3 separate regions of the Homo sapiens genome follow, and all the other regions are linked to region 3. The links are contacts of gene promoters, found by promoter capture Hi-C in human tissues and cell types (Jung and others, 2019). All regions are on one chromosome and are shown on one strand. The core of a region is centred on a gene start or on the middle of the fragment in contact, and the rest is flanking DNA. Distances in the headings are between cores, read along the strand shown.

Evidence for each region. Contacts are between HindIII fragments. The study calls those that stand out against the background at their distance.
Region 1: a contact is called between a fragment that was not itself captured here and the fragment with the promoter of SLC25A2 in region 3, in 9 of the 25 tissues and cell types used here (H1 embryonic stem cells, aorta, dorsolateral prefrontal cortex and 6 more).
Region 2: a fragment that was not itself captured here is called in contact with the fragment with the promoter of SLC25A2 in region 3 in 2 of the 25 tissues and cell types used here (fat and pancreas).

Annotation. Positions count from the first base shown.
Region 1 is chr5:141,459,797-141,463,094 of GRCh38, reverse strand. All of the region lies in intron 1 of PCDHGA1 (protocadherin gamma subfamily A, 1), which reads right to left. All of the region lies in intron 1 of PCDHGA2 (protocadherin gamma subfamily A, 2), which reads right to left. The region is part of intron 1 of PCDHGA3 (protocadherin gamma subfamily A, 3); the gene reads right to left. The region is part of intron 1 of PCDHGB1 (protocadherin gamma subfamily B, 1); the gene reads right to left. It also overlaps PCDHGA4, PCDHGB2, PCDHGA5, PCDHGB3, PCDHGA6 and PCDHGA7, and 10 more genes. Among named protein-coding and RNA genes, the nearest start is that of PCDHGC3, 15 kb to the left of the region's middle. The HindIII fragment of the contact is 8,589 bases long and covers 1-3,298 here.
Region 2 is chr5:141,437,561-141,440,953 of GRCh38, reverse strand. All of the region lies in intron 1 of PCDHGA1 (protocadherin gamma subfamily A, 1), which reads right to left. The region is part of intron 1 of PCDHGA2 (protocadherin gamma subfamily A, 2); the gene reads right to left. The region is part of intron 1 of PCDHGA3 (protocadherin gamma subfamily A, 3); the gene reads right to left. All of the region lies in intron 1 of PCDHGB1 (protocadherin gamma subfamily B, 1), which reads right to left. It also overlaps PCDHGA4, PCDHGB2, PCDHGA5, PCDHGB3, PCDHGA6 and PCDHGA7, and 11 more genes. Among named protein-coding and RNA genes, the nearest start is that of PCDHGA12, 8.8 kb to the right of the region's middle. The HindIII fragment of the contact is 5,098 bases long and covers 1-3,393 here.
Region 3 is chr5:141,302,273-141,305,714 of GRCh38, reverse strand. SLC25A2 (solute carrier family 25 member 2) reads left to right here and starts at 1,666. Exons shown (of 1, transcript NM_031947.4): 1 at 1,666-3,080. The coding sequence starts at 1,850. The coding sequence ends at 2,755. The HindIII fragment of the contact is 6,230 bases long and covers 1-3,442 here.

The DNA.
Region 1 (3,298 bases), core at 22-2,521, 160 kb before region 3:
ACATAGGGCTGGAAAATGTTTGAATTTCATTTAGCCATAATAAAGAGACCCTGCTGAACACTCAGATTAATCAAAAAAGTCAGAATTAAGTGGTAGGTCTAAATTAGCCCAAGGCAAAAGTTACTACAGACCTGTCCTAACAAAGCTTAAAAACAAGCCTTGAAAAGATCAACCTGATCTGCAAAAAACATAATAGCCTTCCAAAACAAACTGCAATAGTTCTTAAAGAAAGACAAAATCCAAACACTCAAAAATATAACATTTACAATGTCTGCTGTCCAATAAAAACATTATTAGACATGCAAATAAGCAACAAATTATGACCCCAAGCCAGGAAGAAAATCATCATAGGAATTACAGAGGTGACAAAATTAGCAGACAAGGACTTTAAAACCTCCATTATAAATGTGCTCAAAAATTTAAAGAAAAATATGAAGATAATTGAGGATGGAAATGAAAGAGTCAAATGGAACTTCTAAAAGTGAAAAATACAATATATGAAATGGAAACTTCACTGGATGGGATTAGCAAATACAGTAAACACTGAAGAAGAAAAGATCACTGAACAACACTCTTACTAACTTGATCTAGTTGACAATTATAGGATACAACAACCACGAGAAGCAGAATACACAGTTTTCAGTTACACAGTTGTGTGTAAGCAACACTCACCAAGATAGACCATATTCTGTGCCATAAAAGAAATGTTAACGAATTTAAAAGAATAGAAACTATACAATGTATATTTTTGGATCACAATACAATTAAATTAGAAATCAGTGACAAATATATTTGGGTAATACTTACATATTTGGTGACTAAACAATACACTTTAGGCTGGTCATGGTGGCTCATACCTGTAATCCCTGCACTTTGGGAGGCCGAGGCAGGCGGATCACCTGAGGTCAGGAGTTCAAGACCAGCCTGGCCAACATGATGAAACCCCATCTCTACTAAAAATACAAAAAATTGGACTGGGTGCAGTGGCTCATGCCTGTAATCCCAGCATTTTGGGAGGCCAAGGCGGGCAGATCACCTGAGGTCGGGAGTTCAAGACCCGCCTGACCAACATGAAGAAACCCCGTCTCTATTAAAAATACAAAATTAGCCTGGCGTGGTGGCATATGCCTGGAATCCCAGCTACTCAGGAGGTTGAGGCAGGAGAATTGCTGGAACCCAGGAGGCAGAGGTTGCAGTGAGCCGAGATCGTGCCATTGCACTCCAGCCTGGGCAACAAGAGCAAAACTCTGTCTCAAAAAAAAAAGAAAAAAAAATTAGCTGGGTGTGGTGGTGGGCACCTGTAATCCCAGCTACTTGGGAGGCTGAGGCAGGAGAATCGCTTGAATCTGGGAGCCGGGATTGTGCCACTGCACTCCAGCCTGGGCAAAAAAAGTGAAACTCTGTCTCAAAATAAACAAACAAAATAACAAACTTTAAAATAATCCATGGGTCAAAGAAGAAATTGCAAGGTGTATTAGAAAATACTTTGAACTAAATTATAATGGAAATATAACATCCAAAATATTATCTTTGCAAAGTACACATCTGACAAAGGACTAGTATCCAGAATCTACAAGGAACTAACAAATCACCAAGAAAAATAAAACACAATCCCATTAAAAAGTAGGCAAAGGACACAAATAGCCATTTCTCAAAAGAAGGTATACAAATGGCCCACAAACATATGAAAAAATGCTCAACATCGCTAATCATCAGGAAAATGCAAATTAAAACCACAACGAGCTACCACCTTGGTCCTGCAAGAATGGCCATTATTAAAAAGTCAAAAAACAATAGATGTTGGTGTGGATGTGGGGAAAAGAGAACACTTACACATTGCTGCTGGGAATATAAATTAGTACAACCTCTATGGAAAACAGTATGGAGATTCTCTAAAGAGCAAAAAACAGATCTACCATTCAATCCAGCAATCCCACTATTGGGTATCTACCCAAAGGAAAATAAGTAATTATATGAAAAAGACACTTGGACACATATGTTTATAGCAGCACAATTCACAATTGCAAAAATGTGAAACCAACCTAAGTCCCCATCGACTAATGAGTGGATAAAGAAAATGTGGTATATATATATACACATATATATATATACACACACACACACACACACACATATATATATACATAATACATATATATACACACACACATATATATATATACACCATGGAATATTACTCAGCCACGAAAAGGCATGAAATAATGTCCTTTGCAGCAACTTGGATCGAACTGGAGGCCATTACTTTAAGTGTGTATATATGTATACATACATATATATACTTTGTGTGTATATATGTATACATACATATGCAATATGTATATGTACACATATATATACAATGTGTATATATGCTTATAACAATAGTTTATTCTCATTCAACTGTTGGTGGATATATAGATATATAACTGTGTTTACAGTTACATATGTGTAAACACAGTTATATATCTGTATCTGTCTATCTATCCATCTAACACAGAGAGCCCAGAAAAAACCCACACCTACATATGTCCATGGCCAAATGATTTTTGATTAAGGTGCTAAGATTATTTGGTGGGGAAAAGATAGCCTTCTCAGCATATTTTTCCAAAGAGACAATTGGATATTCCTTTGGAAAAAAATATGAATCTTCATTGTTACCTCACACCATACACCATACATAAACATCAACTCAAAAGGATTCATAGACCAAATTATAAATGGTAAAACTATAAAACTTCTAAAAGAAAATATAGGAGAAAATCATCATAAGTTTTCAGTAGGCAAGGAGTTTTTGAATAGGACATAAGAAATACAAACTATAAAAGAAAAAATAAATTGGGCTTTATCAAAATTACATCTTCTGCTCTTCAAAAGACACAACTAAGAAAATGAAAAGACAAGTCATAGTCTGGGATAAAATATCCACAAAATATGTATGTGACAAAGAGCTCACATCAAGAATATATATATTACATATATAAAAATCATATATAATTACATGTATAATTATTATTTTTTAGATGAAGTCTCACTCTGTTGCCCAGGCTGGAGTGCAGTGGTGCAGTCTCGGCTCACTGCAACCTCCGCCTCCTGGGTTCAAGCGATTCTCCTGTCTCAGCCTCCTGAGTAGCTGGGATTACAGGCACCTGCCATCACGCCCAGCTACAAGGATATATTTTAAAACTCCCATAGCTCAATTTTAAGAAGGCGTTCAGCTCAGTTAAAGATGAACGAATGCTTCAAGAAGATATACAAATAGACAACACATGAAAAGTTGCTCAGTGTCTCTAGTCAACAG
Region 2 (3,393 bases), core at 461-2,960, 140 kb before region 3:
CTTGACACTCTAGTCCTGGTTGGTGGCCCTCACTCTCAGCACAGGAGTGCCCGGATGCACATCTTCCTGAAGGCCGACGCTGTACACATCCTAGATGAACACAGGGTTGTCATTGGCTTCAACCAATAGGATCAGGAGTTGAGTGATGCTGCTTTGTTGGGGGGCCGTCTAAGGCTGCTAGCACTAAGGGATGGGAGCTCTGCTTTTCCTAGTCAAGCAGCTTCTCTAACACAGGATCAACATATGTCTTTCCACTGTTGGTCACTTTTACTTCAAAGAGAAATATAGAGTTGCTGCTAAGGTGATAATTTTGTAAGGAATTTCTCTCAACATCAGGATCTTCTGCAGGTTCTGTTGCAAATCTTGTTCCAGCTGGGTAAACTCAGAGATACGTAACTTAATAACATTCCTGCTGAACCGTGGTGCATGATTCTTCATATCCTGAATCTCCATATTAATGTGAAAAACATTTAAAGAATTTTCAACTACCGTTTGTTCATTTTTTTTGAGATGGCGCCTTGCTCTGTCACCCAGGCTGGAGTGCAGTGGTGCGATTGCCTCTCGGGTTCAAGCGATTCTCCTGCCTCGGCCCCCCGAGTAGCTAGGATTATAGGCCTGCACCACCATGCCCAGTAATTTTTGTATTTTTAGTAGAGACAGGGTTTCACTATGTTGGTCAGGCTGGTCTCGAACTCCTGACCTCGTAATCTGCTCGCCTCGGCCTCCCAAAGTGCTGGGATTACAGGTGTGAGCCACCATGCCTGGCCTTCAACTATTTCAAAGCGTTATGGCCCAAGCTATAATTGGGGGGCGTATCTGCTCCTGATCCATTCAGTCATTCACAAGTAAGTCTCCACTTTCCCCACTTAGAATGAAGTATTATTCCTCAGCATTAACCCGAAGCTTTCAAGTGGGCATGTCCTCGACACTGAGTCCCAGATCCTTGGCAAGGTTTCCCACCACCAAACTCTTGGCCAGCTCCTCTAGGACTGAATAACGGATCTGCATCATAGAGAATGCCCAGCAGGATAGAAATAGCAGGAAAGGAGGCAGTAGTCGCCTTGGTTCTACCCAGACTGTCAGTCCAGCACCATTCCCCACCTTTTCCACAGTTAGAGTTGCTGCTGCTCCAGCCCAAATAAGCCCCTTTTCAAACTCTTCTTGGATTATAGAATCTCCAGCCAAGAAGGAGCTGAACTCATTGCCTGTAAATCCGTTCCGTTCCTGCTTATAATTTGTAGAACTAGGAGCCATAATAGGAATGTTGTGGGTCTGCTCTTGGATTTGCATTCCATGAAATTAGAAAAGCCACCAAGCCGGAATGTCTGGGGATTGGCTCATTTATCTCTGTTTCCAGACTGGCCAACAGTGGCACTCTGAGTCCCTACTCTAGAACTGCAGCCTGAAGAAATGAGAGGACAGCGTTCTGTAGAGTTAGTTGAGAGCAGAGAGAAAGACGTTTCTCACTGGAATTTGCAAGCTGAAAGGCAGCAGTGCAGTCTTGCTCCCGCAATAAAATATTCCTGGGAATTTATAACCTCAGTGATGTTAGCACATGAAGTCGAAGTGATGACTTATTTTTATTTCTTCTTGATGTTTGAGTATTTGTAGGCTTAGAATCTTTCTTTCCATTCCCACTTCCATGCCTGGGCTTTACTTTTTCCATGGAACACAGTCTCAGAATGAACTGTTGGCTGAATCTTCAGCTGAAATTGTATAGGAAGCTTCTAAGAATTTTCACATATGGATTTTTTTTTTTTTTTGTCAGAGTCTCACTATGTCGCCCAGGCTGGAGTGCAGTGGCGTGATCTCAGCTCACTGCAACCTCTGTCTCCCGGGTTCAAGTGATTCTCTTGCCTCAGCCTCCTGAGTAGCTGGGATTACAGGCGCCTGCCACACAATATGGAAATCTTATGAACTGAGGCATCTATTTTCAAAATTTGACAAACAAACCAGGTCCTTAGCCTTTTAAGATAAGTCAGACAGTTGGCAGGGTGCGGTGGCTCATGCCTATAATCCCAGCACTTTGGGAGGCCAAGGCAGGTGGATCACCTGAGGTCAGGAGTTCAAGAGCAGCCTGGCCAACTTGATGAAACTCTGTCTCTACTAAAAATATTTTAAAAAATTAGCTGGGCATGGTGACAGGCGCCTGTAATCCCAGCTACTGGAGAGGCTGAGGCAGGAGAATCGCTTGAACCCAGGAGGCAGAGGTTGCAGTGAGCTGAGATCACACCACTTGCACTCCAGCCTGGGTGACAGAGCAAGACTCCATCCCCTACTCCAAATATATATATACATATATGTGTGTGTGTGTGTGTATATATATATATATATATATATATATATATATATATATATATATGTATGTATGTATGTATGTATATCAGACAGCTGCCTCTTATTAGGGCTTAGATATAGAGGAAAAGTCCATGTAAAATAATTGGTTTTGCACTATGATTCTTTTTTCTCCAAGAGACCACTTTCCAATAATTGAACTCAAGCATTGTATTGAGTACTTAGAAGGTGTACAAACTACTGTGTGAAATACTTCAGAGAGTTAATGATGAACTAAGAAATTATATCTGCCCTCAATGACAATACACAGAGTAGATCCTTATATGACATGTATAAGAAAAATTATGGTGGTACCAACTTCTTTTACATACAGATTAAATTATTTTGTTTGATTCTATGGTCTCTTCAATGACAGTTTTTTAAAAACATTTTCCTGAACCAGAGCCCTTCCCATATGGTATCCAGAAGTCTCATCCTTTATAAAATATTTTTTCCAATTAGCTTTGCCATAGGCTGGCTATCTTTTGCCATTAATATTTTAGGAATGCATCCTAAACAGTATGCCCTGTTACTGGTAATTTTCCATTAAGTATGGTTTCTTAAAAGTGAACTCAAAGTGGTCGGGCATGGTGGCTCACACCTGTAATCTCAGCTATTTGGGAGGCTGAGGTGGGGTGGGTGCATCCCAAGATCAAGAGATCAAGACCATTCTGGCCAATATGGTGAAACCCCATCTCTACTAAAAATACAAAAATTAGCTGGGTGTGGTGGCGTGTGCCTGTAGTCCCAGCTACTCGGGAGGCTAAGGCAGGAGAATAGCATGAACCCAGGAGGCAGAGGTTGCAGTGAGCCAAGATAGTGCCACTGCACTCCAGCTTGGCGACAGATTGAGACTCTGTCTCAAAAAAAAAAAAAAAGGTGAACTCAAAGTGTAACATTAGAGGGTAACTGTGTCTCTTTCTTGAGATTTAGCCTCATCAGTTTGATCAACATCTCTTCGAAACTATGTGTTTGCTTTTCTGAACCTGACATCTTATATGGGGATAAAGCAGATTTTTACACCAGAACTATCCAATTCATGATCACAGCTATACTCTG
Region 3 (3,442 bases), core at 417-2,916:
CAGCAGTGGCCTGGGCGGCTTGACTAAGGATACTTACAGTTTTTTATTGAATGTAAGCTAAACAAGGGGTGGATTATTCATGAGGTTTCTGGGAAAGGGGTCCAAAGTTACCGGAACTGAGGATTCCTCCCCCTTTTTAGACCACATAGGGTCACTTCTTATTGTTGCCATGGCATCTGTAAGTGGACACGGCGCTGGTGGGCGTGTCTTTTAGCATGCTAATGCATTATAATTGGCGTATAATGAGCAGTAAGGACGACCAGAGGTCACTTATTATGCCATCTTGATTCTGGTGGGATTTGGCTGGCTTCTTTACTGAAACCTGTTTTATCAGCAAGGTCTTTGTGACCCGTATCTTGTGCCGGCCTCCTATCTCATCCTGTGACTTAGAATGCCTGTCTTCCTGGGAATGCAGTCCAGTAGGTCTCGGCCTTATTTTACTCAGTCCCTAGTCAAGATGGAGTTGCTGTGGTTCCAGCGCCTCTGACAGTTTGTCTTCTCTACTTTATTTTTTGTAGGGGGTAAGGGGTGTCTCATTTTGCTGCCCAAGCTAGCCTTGAACTCCTAGGCTCAAATGAGCCTCCCTCCGCAGCCTCTCCAAGTGTTGGGATTACAGGCATGAGCCACCACACCTGGCCTGTCTTATCTACTTTAAAGCAGTTTTCTTGTAGATTGACCCTCTGAATTCAGGGTCTATTCAAGTGAGGGCATCTTCTTTTCGGGTTGTTTGTTTTTGTTTTTTGCATGGTAAGAAGCGTGGGATAGGCCGGGTGTGGTGGTTCATGCTTGTAAGCCCCAACACTTTGGGAGGCCAGTGGGTGGATTGCTTGAGTTCAGGAGTTCGAGACTAGCCTGGGCAACATGGCGAAACCCCGTCTGTACAATACAAAATTTAGCCAGATGTGGTGGCTTGCGCCTGTAGTCCCTCTAGTCTCAGCTACTCAGGAGGCTGAGGTGAGAGGATCGCCTGAGGCCAGGAGATTGGGGCTGCAGTGAGCCAGGATCGCGCCACTGAACTCCAGCTTAGGCGGCCGAGTGAGACCCTAAGTCAAAAAAAAAAAAAAGAGAGAAAAGAAAAGAAGCAGGGCTGACTGATTAGGACAGCATTTCTTTTGCCGCCAGCTGAACTGCGGCGTCTAGAGTTCCCGGCCATAATTGCAAGAATTTATCGAAAAGCTTTACATGTTTTCTTGGTTTTGGTTTTGTTTTGAGACAGAGCCTCACCCTTTCGCCCACCCTGGAGTGCAGTGTGCGATCATAGCTCACTGCAGCATCGACCTCCCGGGTTCAAGCGATCCTCGCTTCATTCTCCTGAATTGCTGGGACCACAGGCGCGCGCCATCGCGCCCGGGTATTTTTTCGTTTTTGTAGAAATGGAGTCTTGCCATATTGCCCAGGCTGGTCTCGATCTCCTGGGCTCAAGCGATCCTCCCGCCTCGGCCTCCCAAAGTGCTGGGATACAGGAGTGAGCCACCGCGCCCAGTCGCAGTACACTAAAAGTATTTATTCGGTCCGCGTCCCCCGCCTGCGGGTGCAGGGATGGCGGCTCCAGGCTGGAGGCGGCTGGGGGCCCGGCCAGTGCGCCAGGAGCCGCAGGAACGCTAGTGAGCCGCGCGCTGGGCCGGCAGCTGGGGGTTATTTTAGTGCGCGGGGAGGGGGCGGCCCGCGGCGGAGCGTAGGGTTGAGCGGCTTCCCCCGCACTGGGGTGAGAGCCCAGAACAGGCGGTAGAGCCACCCCACCACCCCCAACTCCATTCCCCGCGCTCGCTGCGGCTGGACGTGAAAAGCCGGTCTCACGCTCTGGGGAGTTAGTCGCCTTCCACTGGGACCCTCAGACGAGTGAGCGAACATGAAGTCCGGTCCTGGCATCCAAGCCGCCATCGACCTCACAGCGGGGGCCGCAGGGGGGACAGCGTGTGTACTGACTGGGCAGCCCTTCGACACAATAAAAGTGAAGATGCAGACGTTCCCTGACCTGTACAAGGGCCTCACCGACTGCTTCCTGAAGACATACGCTCAAGTGGGTCTCCGGGGCTTCTACAAGGGCACCGGCCCGGCACTTATGGCCTACGTCGCCGAAAACTCGGTCCTCTTCATGTGCTACGGGTTCTGCCAGCAGTTTGTCAGGAAAGTGGCTGGAATGGACAAGCAGGCAAAGCTGAGTGATCTCCAGACTGCAGCCGCGGGGTCCTTCGCCTCTGCATTTGCTGCACTGGCTCTCTGCCCCACTGAGCTTGTGAAGTGCCGGCTACAGACCATGTATGAAATGGAGATGTCAGGGAAGATAGCAAAAAGCCATAATACAATTTGGTCTGTCGTGAAGGGTATCCTTAAAAAGGATGGCCCCTTGGGCTTCTACCATGGACTCTCGAGTACTCTACTTCAAGAAGTACCGGGTTATTTCTTTTTCTTTGGTGGCTATGAACTGAGCCGATCGTTTTTTGCGTCAGGGAGATCAAAAGATGAACTAGGCCCTGTCCATTTGATGTTAAGTGGTGGAGTTGCTGGAATTTGCCTGTGGCTTGTCGTGTTCCCAGTGGATTGTATTAAATCCAGAATTCAAGTTCTTTCCATGTATGGGAAACAGGCAGGATTTATTGGTACCCTCTTAAGTGTTGTGAGAAATGAAGGAATAGTAGCCTTATATTCTGGACTGAAAGCTACTATGATTCGAGCAATCCCTGCCAATGGGGCACTGTTTGTGGCCTACGAATACAGCAGGAAGATGATGATGAAACAGTTGGAAGCATACTGAAGTGTCTTGGTGAACCTGGATCCGAGTCCATGAGTTTGAGGACTACAGTTCATCACAGGGTTCAGCAGAGTACAAGACCACTGTCTAATTTTGACTTCATGGGAATTTTGGTTTTATCTTCCCTTCTTCTACCCTAAATCTTAACTTTATGGAAGGGCCTCTATTTTACATCATATAATTTCTGCCCATAATTGTATTGAAATAGGAAAGTTGCTGCTCTTGCACTTGCTGGAATGTACAGGGTGGGCTGGTTGGCCCTATGTACCTAATCTGAAAAACTAAATATCGTTCTGTCAGGGCCTTTGCATAAAGCCATTTGTGTGTACATGCAGTTTGGATGATTCTATGTCGTGAGTGAAACAATTTAGTTCTATATATAATCTCAAATATCAGCCCCCCAAACCCAGAATTGACCATATTTTGTGAAGATAGGTATGAATGATTACTTAGGATCACTCTCTCTTTTTTTCTTTTTTTTTGGAGACAGAGTCTCACTCTGTCGCCCAGGCTGGAGTGCTGTGGCATGATCTTGGCTCACTGCAACCTCTGCCTGCCTGGTTCAAGCGATTCTCCTGCCTCAGCCTCCCGAGTTGCTGGGATTACAGGTGCCCGCCACCATGCCCAGCTAATTTTTGTATTTTTAGTAGGGATGGGGTTTCACCATGTTAGCCAGGCTGGTCTCGAACT